Linked DNA regions of Homo sapiens: regions 2 and 3 are each linked to region 1. The links are contacts of gene promoters, found by promoter capture Hi-C in blood cells and fetal thymus (Javierre and others, 2016). All regions are on one chromosome and are shown on one strand. The core of a region is centred on a gene start or on the middle of the fragment in contact, and the rest is flanking DNA. Distances in the headings are between cores, read along the strand shown. Region 1 holds the start of SEMA3D (semaphorin 3D). Region 2 has its middle 100 kb from the start of SEMA3D. Region 3 has its middle 110 kb from the start of LINC00972.

The links. The method cuts DNA at HindIII sites, captures the fragments that hold promoters and counts their contacts. A CHiCAGO score of 5 or more calls a contact.
Region 2: a contact is called between a fragment that was not itself captured here and the fragment with the promoter of SEMA3D in region 1, in 1 of 17 cell types (total B cells). The highest score is 6.1, in total B cells.
Region 3: a contact is called between a fragment that was not itself captured here and the fragment with the promoter of SEMA3D in region 1, in 2 of 17 cell types (total B cells and naive B cells). The highest score is 6.3, in total B cells.

What each region holds. Positions count from the first base shown.
Region 1 is chr7:85,184,630-85,188,636 of GRCh38, reverse strand. SEMA3D (semaphorin 3D) reads left to right here and starts at 1,581. Exons shown (of 19, transcript NM_001384900.1): 1 at 1,581-1,959. RefSeq lists a silencer at 1,710-1,769. The HindIII fragment of the contact is 2,551 bases long and covers 580-3,130 here.
Region 2 is chr7:85,285,862-85,289,748 of GRCh38, reverse strand. No RefSeq gene overlaps it. Among named protein-coding and RNA genes, the nearest start is that of SEMA3D, 100 kb to the right of the region's middle. The HindIII fragment of the contact is 3,122 bases long and covers 156-3,277 here.
Region 3 is chr7:85,306,726-85,310,745 of GRCh38, reverse strand. No RefSeq gene overlaps it. Among named protein-coding and RNA genes, the nearest start is that of LINC00972, 110 kb to the left of the region's middle. The HindIII fragment of the contact is 6,360 bases long and covers 1-4,020 here.

The DNA.
Region 1 (4,007 bases), core at 332-2,831:
TTTTCTAAAAATCAAAAACTACTTACTATAAACCCACCATATACGGGAGAAAAAAAGAGATATTTTATTTGCACAATGACATTGCAATTTGCATGGAAGTGCAATGACATATACAAATGAAAATAATATAAACACATAGAAACATACAATAAACAATTGCATGACTATGTACAGAATGAGTGGTATAACATTAAATATAAAGCATTCAGAAAAAAAATAAAAGTTGCTATAGTTTGAAATAGTCTACGAGGATTTAAAATTTTTTTCTCTATCCAAAGAGGGTATTTATGGGGTTGATTGGTTGTGAGTCCAAACCAAGGTTATAGAGATGGGGCAGCATGAGACACAAGAAAGAGCCTTGGTCAGATTTGAGAAACCTGAGCCTTTCCTTAGCCTGACTCTGCCATCAACCATTTATAACTTAAAATGACTCCTTTAGCTTCTGTGGCCCTCAGCCCTCTGCCACAGATAAAAGGTCAAATGAAGAATGTCTTCCACCCCTTTCAGTTATTCCATTACTGCATTTGTCTGTTCACCATCTCCAAATCAAGATATCTCTTGTTACTTGCTAAGGAAGCTTTGGGACCCTACACCTTGTGCTCTTAAATCAAGCTGACAAATGCAGGATCCCGTGGCTGCTTGCTTTCCATGTCTCTACCTCATGTCAGATTTATGTTTGGGACTAAGGGCAAGGTGTGTGACTATAAACCTGGATATCCCATCACAAAGGATTTACCATGCAGCTAAAAATGCCTAACGTACAGGGCTCACCAAATGCACAGGCCTTTTTAATGTCCCTGACGGTGGCCTCATGAACTCTCATTGTCATATATTTTTGCAGAATCTGTAGAAGTGAGATATTTCTGCATTACTTTTGCTTAAAGAGGATCCTCTATTCCAATTGCATAGGATCCAGGTTCATCAAAACTTAGATCTTCTCGTCATTATATACTTCTAAGTTCCTACTGTGTGAATAAGGGGTGCAAAAATCTAAAAAACTCCCGAAGACAAGGATATGAGGCACACCTCTTTGTAGGTCTGGCGTAAGGGAAAGAGGAAGAAAGGATTACATTCTACTCGTTTTTATCTCTCCCTGTTTGGTCTTAATCGGGTGCCAGCCCCTTAACGGAGGGTTGATCCCTGTTCCTCATCCCTATGCCTGCCTTGTCAAGGCCATTAACCGTGGATTGAGGTTTTACATAGTGGAACGCAGGTACTGTTTTGTGGGATTAGCATTTTTAGGACGGTGTTTGTGGTCACTCTCCCTGTTTCTTCCTCATGGGGTCCCTTAACAGGTTTTATGGTATAGAGAAGGAACTAAAGAAGTCCCCAAGTCACCCAGAAGGAAGATCAGACGTTAGAGGTTGCTTTACACATAGGGTGCCCTGTCCTGATAAACATCCGTCAGCGCTTGGCCAGGGCTACCTCTAAATCCACGCTGCTGGCAGCCTCCGCGCAGCAGGGATGAACTTCTGCACGCTTGGGAGTTCTGGCGTGCGCAGTGGAAGGAGGGGGCGAGGGCTGGGGGAGGAGATCGGAAGGGGAAAGGTAATCCCCGGCGTTTTCAGCATCCTCTTTTTAGAAAGACTGAGTCTCTCCCAGGACAGCTGCTGCGGTCACACCACAAACTTAAAAGCCGCCCTCCTGTTTGGAGCGTGCCTTTCCTCGCCACCCTCTCCTCCCCAAAGCTCCAGCTGGTGCCTTGCTCTCCGCCTGTCCTAGCGCGGCTCTCGGGGGAGGCAGCAGCGCCCCCTGCCTCCCGGCCTGGCCCCTGCGGCCGCAGCTTCCCGGCTCTGCCAGGGCTGCCGGCGGCTCCGCTTGCTCAGCCAGGGCTGCGGCTCAGAGGAACGCGCGCCGGTGCCCCGGGTTGCCGCGCCGCTGGACCTCAGCCTGCATCCCGTTCCCCTCTCCCTGAAAAGGCACCAGGAAAAGAGAGAGGGAGAGAAGAGTTCACAGCAGGTAAGTCTGGTTTGGGTCACCTGCTACTCCAGTGGGAGGGTGTGCTGGAGACCGCGGTGCTAAGCGGGGATAGCCGGGATTTGGGGGTGGCTGTGGGTCCGAAGTGGAGGACGAGCATGGTTTGGGAGATAAGGAACCGTCCTGAGACAGAGAAGGCTCCCGGGAGCGGACAGAGAGTGGGCGAAATCGGTGCGCAGTAATCGCGGCGCCAGCTTCAGCGCGGCCCCTGGGGCGCAGTCCCACCCCGCCTCAGCAGCTGCGGAGCCTTCTGACGAGCCTCCGCCTGGCAGCACTGCACAAAGTTTTCCTCCTGAGACGCGTCCAGGAACTTTGCTCTCTCCCTGGCTTCCTGGTTCCCCCACCACCCCTCCTGGTCTGGGCAGCAGAGAGCGTCTATGAATGTGTCCCCGGCTTCCGCAGGCTGCAGGTTCATTTGGAGACGCTTTAGTCGGGAACATCCGGGGAGTACTTGACCAAAGGGCATCTGCGCCCTCGCTCGCTCCTTTCCTTGTTGGTCTGGGAGAAGGGAAAGGGGCAAGGAAGAAGGAAGGGAAGCGTGGTGGTTTTTGTTGTAGCGTTTTGGAAGAGGAATGGGCGACGCCTTTTTCTTCGCCGGGGAATCGCGACGTTCCGTCTGATGGAAGTGTGCATCCTTTTAGATTTAGAGGGAAAGTTGGAGTCAAACAGCAGCCACAAAGCTGGCTGTCTGAAATGTGGTTAAGGCAAAACACTCGGGGGATCTCTTTGTAGTAGTGGGCTTGGCTCGCTTTGGAAAGGCCGGATTTGACTCGTGCTGGGCATTTAACCAGGAGTGCGGTCCCCAGGGTGTTTCCTCCCGGCTTCTGCCCAACGAGCCTGGAGTTAATGCGTTAATGGGCTACCCTGGTAGCGCACGGGCCGTTTTCGGCACTGTTTCTCCTTCTCTGATGACTCGAGTTCAACCTCCTGGGCTGAGTTGCTTTGCCTCCGTCACAGTGCAAGGAGGGAAGTTGACAGGAGGAGGAGACGCCGCGCTGTGGCAGGGAGCTTTGGGATCCAGGGGACTGGAAGAGAGCCGCGCGCCAGCAGCTGGGGCCGCTGGTGTCCGGGATTCCGAGTTATGGGGACAGGAGTTAAATAGCCGAACTTTCAGCGATTTCGCCTCGAGCGAAGCGGTAATAAAAGGCAAGCTTCTGTGCGTGGACTCTTATTTCATCACCAAAACCCCACCACTTTCCGTTTAGCTTAGTGCTATTTGCACAAGCAAAAGAAGAGGGGAGAAGACCTAAACTTTCCGGTTTAGCCTAAAAAGGGTTCTCCTGCATGTGTGCGCTAGCGGGGGATGGCGGGGTGGGGGCGCGCAGAGACGAGGGGGAGGATCTCCTAACAGAGAGGGAAGGGTTGAGGCGGAGGTAGAGGAGAGGTCTGAGACATCTCCTGGGTCTGGTGCTGCTGCTATTGTGTAACCATGGCAACCGCGGGGGCAGGGGTGGTCAGAGCCTTCCCAGTTCTGCACGTGGAAAGAAAAATGTGAAGGGCAGAGAAGGGAGAGAGCCACATGTCATCACTCCAGTGATGCCTTGCCTTCTCCTTTTTGTTCTCCTTTTCCTTCTCCTTTTCCTTCTCCTTTTCCTTCTTCTCTGAGGCCAGATAGCAAGGAGGATGAGCAAGAAGACACACATGTCATCACTCCAATGATGCCCTCCCTTCTCCTTTTCCTTCTCCGAGGCCAGACAGCAAGGAGGATGAGCAAGAAGATCGGGGTTGGGAGTGATCAGCCCCAGCTGGCCACTGCTTTAACCCAGTCGGGTCTTAGAGTCTCTGAGACTCGCCCCAGCGGATAAGACGGGTCAGGGGTGCCATCGCTGACAGGCGCAAAGTGATGGCCCTGGTCAGGGAGATGGGCAATGACCTTGGCTCTTGGAAGGGAAAGGCCAGGAAATACAGGAAGGTGATGTGGGACGAGATAAGAGTAGGGTCAAGGGCTGACAGACAGTAAAACAGTACTGATTCGAATTGCCAAAATTTCCAATGGAATTTGCCCAATTGTGAAATGGAAAGTTCCTAGA
Region 2 (3,887 bases), core at 467-2,966, 100 kb before region 1:
GAACATAGAAGAGCCCCACTAAAAACCACTAATCAAGGTCCTCAAATCCTTTGCATGGGAGCTCCAGCCAGGCAAGCCTAGGAGACGTATTGAGGTGCTGGTAGCCAATGCTCAGGAAAAAGAATGACTTTTGGGTATTTGAAGAATAGAAAGCTTCAGTAGTCACATAACAGGTTGATGTGGGACACACAGATGGGGAAGAAACGGAGGTAGCTGATTCATTCTTGTATTTTAATGCCTATCTGCCCTTTATCTCATGTACCCGGGAGACAGCAGTGCTTACCAGAATGCTAATGACTCTTTTATTCCTTTTTATGAACCACAGGAATCCCCTTTCTCTATAGCTCATCACCCACGTGCAAAAAAAAAAAAAAAAAAAAAATATGTACTTCCCTGCTCTAACAAAGAATTCAAACACACTTTTGCTTACTCTCTTGCACTTTGATGTTTGAAGCAAACAAAAAAGAATTTGTTCTCTCAGAGTAAATAACAACTAAAAGTAAAGAAATAAACGTAAAACTTTGCCTGCCCTCCTGCCTTCCCAACTTTATTTTCCTGTAAGCCTTCTAGGAATAAAAGAAAATAGAAGGTTACACATTGGTGCTGTTTGTCTTGTACACAAAATGCTAAAGGACTTTCATCTGCACATATGTGGAAAACCAACTGCAGTTAACATGGACATTTCCCCCAAAGGGGCAGTAGTTAGAGATCTGGATATGAAAAGCTGAGAAAAGCTGGAGGATGGACAGTGAGGGAGAGGCTAGGGGCTGAGGATACACTTAATACAAAGACAGTGACGTGTACTTGAGGATGCTATTTCCATATTGGCTACAAAAGTACTCCTCTTCCACCAGGCTTAGAGCAAAGTAAAAAATCAAGAAGTAGGTCCGGTGACATTGATAAGAGGAGTGATAGGTAAAAGGAACTGCCCGGAAAAAGTGAGGAATCAACAGAAATAAATGTCTGCCCATCTGGAAGTAGAGTTTCAGTCCCTACTTAGCCTTTCTAAGGGCTGTTTATTACTGGATTTATGTAGCATGATAGTTCAAATAAGAATTGTTCCTAATGGATCTGTTTTTATTTTACATTGGTTATTCGTTCATAAAGAATGAGTAGGTTATTATAAAGAAATTCTGTATTTAAAATGTCTGTAAATCAGGTAAGTGAATATGCTAAAAAATACCAAGTTAAATTATTAATGCCTTATATATAGTACTGATGTAAAAACTGAGGTAAAGACTAAAAAATAGACTTTTTCAAAGAAGGGATGAGATTAGAATTCCTAATCTCTGCATTTTCAAAATATGGCTATTATATAGCCTTCTTTATTCCTAAGTTTAAAAATGAGCCTAAAATCTCTAAAAGTCATGTTCACATATAACAATAATGATACAATAAATTAAATAAACTTTTTAATATAAAAATCAGAAACTCATAAATTATGCTATTTTGTTTGGTTCCTACCAGTATTAAATACATTTTAAATTAGTTTGCAGAGTTACGGGCACGTCACTGAAAAATATGGTAATTTGTCTTTATTATGAATTATTTTACCAAGAACAGCTGATGTTTTATAGAAACTAGTTCAACATACATTTTGAGTTAAAAAAAATAACTTGATACAATTATAGAAATCATCCAGAATCAAATCACAATTACCTAAACTCCTTAACTAATTATTTTTTCTGATAATAGACTGGAAGTTTTCACTCCAATTTTCTATGAGGGCTAGGCTTTCAATTTTATTTTATAAGAAATGTACATGAATGAAAATGTCATACAGTGGCATTTGCAAAGGTACTAGAAAATATAATTTATAAGACTATTTGTTTCTCATTTAACTTATATTTCAAAAAAATTGGAATTTTTATGTATTCTACCATCACGTTTACTTGCAATTTTCCAGTAATCGTAGGAGATCCTCTTTAAAAGTCTACAAAATAATGAGGCTAAGGACACCTCTTCATTTGTATTTACAGGGAAATTAATTCTTTAGAATTTGCATTTGTCTTTTTAAATGACAGCAGATTTGTCTCAAGTGTGAAATCACAAATTTAAAAGTTAAAAGGCCTCTGGAGTGCAAGACTAGCAGTTGTCCCTTGATGAGACTACTGACAATGACAGCAGATGACAACCTTCAATACAATCATTGTCATGTGTTTGCATGTGAAATTTATGGATAGAAGTTTTAATTCTCCTCTTCTATGGTTGGTGTGGTTTGCCTTCTAGAAAAGAAGCAATTGTTATCAGTATGTAACTGAAGTCTCTAGGATATGATTACATACTTAAGACATGAAGAATTGGAAATGCTTTCAGCAGTCCCCAGGGACGAGCTTAGGGTTGTGACTGATCAACAGGGTAACTATCCTGGTTATAATCCTCACATTACATTCCAGAGGAAAGGCATCACTGCACCTCTAGTTTTCTTAGTTATATTATTTATGACAACAGTGAAGACTTATACTAGTATTAACTGGACAACTGTATACAGATGTGTCATCTAAAACGGTTAGCCCGAGGCGGTAAAAATGTGTCTCAGTCTCACCATTCATCCAGCAACAGCTGACAATTTGGCAGCAATCTGTGTTATGTTAAGATTTCCTAGTATCCCTATTTGTACTGTTGCTTGAGGAATCATATGAGAGTAAAAAACATGTTTTGCAGAATACATTATGAAAACAATCATAAGGTATACGTCTATCATTAAAAAATCTTGATGATGTTATGCATGCATATATGAGGAATAAGAAGGAACGAATCAATGTCTGGGTGACAAGTTTCATACATGGCTGAAATTTTTTTCATAAGTTTGAAATGCATGCTTTTTCGCTGTGGAAGTGGAATCACACCTTTGCCTTGCTTTGCACATTTTTAAACTACTGACACATGTTTCAGAGATGTATTGCTTACTCTTCCCTTAATAAGAAAAAAAATCCTGGTAAATAGTCTAGCGAGCATAGAGAATAAAATAACTGGAGGCCACATACAGCAATTTTTAGTTTTATAGTTTATCTTTGGATCGTTTCAGTCTTCTGTATTTACTGGATCTGCCTGTGGAAAAGTCTGTTAATCTGATGGCCAACGTGTTTGTTCTGAGTCACTGATTAAGGAACACTGATGTGAGCACTTTGTTGTGTTTTCCTGCTAATCACAACAACATTTCAGAGCTGCAGAGTTTCCAACTGCTTTCTTCATCCTTGGCATATATAATCTACTTGGAAATAGCTAACTTTTAACTATTTTTCCATTTTTGAAATAGTATGTTGGATATAAAGCTTAATATTTAGTACAGTACAATTTTGCCTTTGTTTTCTGTTTGTCAAGGTGCAGTTTTCCCAAGTAGACAAACATAAAATCCTTTCATTATTCCCAGTCCAGTTAAAAAATAACATTATTAACAAAGAATATGCTTATAATAAGAATTATAAAGATCCAAATGACACAAATATCATGGAAAATTAAGTTAGAAGTAGAATTGAAAAACAGTCCAAAATCCTCATTTTAACTGATTTTTTATTTAGAAAATATATCCATTTCAGATGTTATATAAGCTATTTTTATATAGGAAATATTGATTACATAATTTGTGTGTTTGGAAACTTTAGACACACAGAACTTTAGAAGGCTATGAAAACAGGTAAAGAAGAGCCTACTCAATGAAGCATGTAATAAGAAAAAGAAGATTTTACTGTGTTGTAACCTACATACGATTTTCTCTCACTTTCTTATGGATAGCACATCAACATTTTGGCTAACATAGGCTAGGAAAGCAATGGATCCCACAGCAAACACTAGAGATAAACAGTAAAAATTGATTAATTGAACTACTTAAAAAACGTTCACTCCCTGATGTCTTAATGTTCCTGGTGATTTACTTCCCAAGATGT
Region 3 (4,020 bases), core at 680-3,179, 120 kb before region 1:
TCCTCCCTCCTCAGCCTCCCAAGTAGTTGGGACTACAGGCATGCGACACCATGCTTGCTAACTTTTGTATTTTTTGTAGAGACAGGGTTTCAGTATGTTGCCCAGGCTGGTCTCAAACTCCTGAGCTCAAGAGATCTGCCACCTCAGCCTAGGAAGTCAGTATTTTAATGCTCAAATACAAAGGGTAATATTTTCTAAGAAGAAGATTTTTAATATTAAAATTAAATATATTAATATTAATATTTAAATGTTAAAATTAAAATTTTATTTAATTTTTCCCAAGCAAGAGGCATTTTTGTTCAAATAATATTCAAGTATTTACTTTGAGGCAGAACATGTGCCAAGACCTCAGGATATAATCGAAAACAATAAACAAAACATCTCATCTCATTCCTGCTCTCTTGGAACTTAGATTCACATACAGGAGGAAAGAAAAAATAAATAAATTGGTGAATAAACAATTTAATGTCAACTAATGATAAGTACAATGATCAACATGAATCCTGAGGGATATGATTAGAGAGCAAGCTGGATACTGGAATAAACAAATTAGAGACAGAAACAAACAAACAAAAAACCCTTCAAATTAACACAAAGGATAAATGCCTGAGAGGATGGAGACCCCCTTTCCCAAGATGTGTTTTTTATGCATTGCATGCATGTATCAAAACATCTCATGCACCATATATATATAGAGAGAGAGAGAGAGAGTGTACACAAAAATTAAACATGAAAAATTGAAAAGTTGGCTGGGCACGGTGGCTCATGCCTGTAATCCCAGCACTTTGAGAGGCTTAGGTCAAAAGTTCAAGACCAGCCTGGCCAACATGGCAAAACCCTGTCTCAACTAAAAATACAAAAAATTAGCCAGCGTGGTGGCGAGTGCCTGTAGTCTCAGCTACTCGGGAGGCTGAGGCAGGAGAATGGCGTGAACCCGGGAGGTGGAGCTTGCAGTGAGCTGAGATTGCACCACTGCACTCCAGCCTGGGCGACAGAGGGGGACTCCATCTCAATAAATAAATAAATAAATAAATAAATAAATAAATAAATAAATAAGCCAGTTGTGGTGGCAGGTGCCTGTAATCCCAGCTACTTGGGAGGCTGAGGCAGGAGAATCACGTGAACCCAGGGGGCCGAGGTTGCAGTGAGCCAAGATCGCAGCACTGCACTCCAGCCTGTGCAACAGAGCAAGACTCCACTCATAAAATAAAAAATAAAAATAAATAAATAAATAAAAAATTAAAAAATTAAAATCATGAGTACAGCCTGATTTTGGATGTTGGTGATGTTTTGAGAGAGGGATCACATGATTCAATTGGATGTTCAGTAGAGGAAGCAGCAGGCCAAGGTAACCCACTTCGTGGAGTATAAAGAATATAAAAAAGCCCAAAGAGCAGGTGAGATAAATTGAGGGAGCACACACACACACACACACACACACACACACACACACACACACACACAGGTAGAAGACTAAAACTTTGAAAAGAAGCAGCAAAACCAAAGCATCATGTCTAGGAATAATCATGATTGTGAAGTTGATATTGCGTTACGTGAGGGGAGAGTCAAAAGGTGTCTTCTGTTAGTGCAGACAGAAAGAGGGAACTGCAGCCATTGCAAACAGAGGGCCATGGAGCAAAAATGGAGACAAAACAATGACTGGCATAAACCTAATCCCTTTAGACCCACAATGTGCTTTTGAATGAGTGAGATATTTTGCTTAAAATACAATTCACAATTTGTATATTTTACCCTTAGTAATTGTTTATTACAAGTGAGTATAGTTTTAGCATGCTAATCAGAAAAATTCTGCTTTGTTTAAAGTCTAAATTTAAAATCCCCAAACTGATATTATCTGTAACCAAACTGCTTTAATTCAAGTGGAACATAAAGTCCACATGGAATGTACATTTGTCCCAAGCTGAGACCAACACCACTGATTTGGCCTCTCTGCTTTTGTGCATGTGGAATAGAGGAAGAAGCTATTACACAGCTGCAGTAACAGAGAGCCGATCTCCACCACCCCCACCCATACTAGGAAGGCCCAGAAAATAAACTGGAAAATTGCCACAGAAAGTAAGATGCATGTAGAGACAAAAAACACAGGTTAAACTTGATAGTTGATTCCCCATTAATGAGTAAGGATAAATAATCTCTTAACCTTACCTCGTCTCTCCTCATTTGTAGGGGAGGTTGTATTCTAAACTAGAGGTAAGCATTTAAATGAAAGCTAATTTCAGAGATAATCCCAGGAAGCACTGGTTTGGAATAGGAGGTGAGAAAGGAAAGGGAATGAGTCAATAAAGGCTGTATTATGGAGCAGATGACTGCTGTGGGCAGTTGAGGAACTCTAGGAAACCCTGTAGAACATGTGCAGAGCTGCTGTATTGCTCACAGATAGGAAACTGGACTAGTTATCTACTAATTCCTATTAGTTACTGCTTGAGAGCTATTTCCAGGGACATTACCATCCTGCCTCTTCTGCCCTGTCCTATATATACCGATTACGTGGTTCTGGTAGCCAAAGAAAACCCTCAGGGATAGAGCTACAGATCCTACAGTGAAACTTTCAAGAACTGTGATGTCCAAGTAGTTTTAGGTGGGACATCAACAGTGTCTGCCACAACTAATCATTAAGACCAAATAAACTACTCTATAGCAAAATACTGTGTAAACTACCAATTTCAGTATAAATTAATATTAAGTGGAGAACAAATTGAAATAAATTTTTAACATTCAGTGCAAATATAACTCTAATGCCAGCATAGTTTGAATTATAGTAAAAAGAAATATACATTTAGAATTAGAAAACCTAGAATGTTTAAATCCTGGCATTTCTTTGAGCACATCACTTCTCTAAGTTTAGAGAAGTGTAATGAGGTTTTATTAACTCTTTTATGGTAAAAAATGAGCATATTAAGTTTAGAGAAGTGTAATGAGGTTATATTAACTCTTTTATGGTAAAAAAAAATGAGCATACTAAGTAAGGGGAGGATATTTCTAAGATGATATTTAACACAAAGTAAATTTTTAGTAATTGTTAATTATCTTCCCCACTTCCAACTTTATTTTAAGATTATTCTTATCTGAAGCTGCTCAAGATTTTTCATTTATTATTCTAGCTTATTAAAAACAAGTTGAATAGTTTATTAAGCTGGGTTGTATCTTGAAGCCACTGAAAATACAAATAACATATTTAGGAACGCTTACTGTGAGCCAGGCACTGTCAAAGGCACTGTGCTTAAGATGGTAAACAAGGCCGAGCGCGGTGGCTCACGCCTGTAATCCCAGCACTTTGGGAGGCCGAGGCCAGTGGATCACGAGGTCAGGAGATCTAGACCATCCTGGCTAATACAGTGAAACCCCGTCTCTACTAAAAATACAAAAAAATTAGCCTGGCGTGGTGGCAGGCGCCTGTAGTCCCAGCTACTCGGGAGGCTGAGGCAGGAGAATGGCGTGAACCCGGGAGGCGGAGCTTGCAGGGAGCCGAGATCGTGCCACTACACTCCAGCCTGGGCGACAGAGCGAGACTCTATCTCAAAAAAAAAAAAAAAAAACAAAAACACAACATGGTAAACAAAAGAAACCCCAAATCCCTGTTCTCAAAATATTGTGAAGAAAATGAATGATTAAAAATTATATACAAAAGAGGGCTTCTGATATATAACTTTCTACTTAATGATTATATTTTGATAACATTATTATTTGAGTATCATTATTTAGATATCTTTAATATGAATTTCAAAATTGCTGTGGTGTTTGTCCATTACAGTGGTCTGATGTATTTCAATAATGTAGAACATAGTCTAGATTTAAAAAGAAAAGAAAAAAATTATGAACACAAAGTCAATTTAATTATCCAGGGCAAATTATCGCATTTGCAATGGACTATACCCATATAGTTTTAGATGATTGAGATTCTGAGCAATCATATATTATGGTTTTTATTAATAAGAATTAAAAATTATAAGGAGATGAGTATATGCATTTTGGAGGTCCTTCCCAATTCTAAAATTCTAT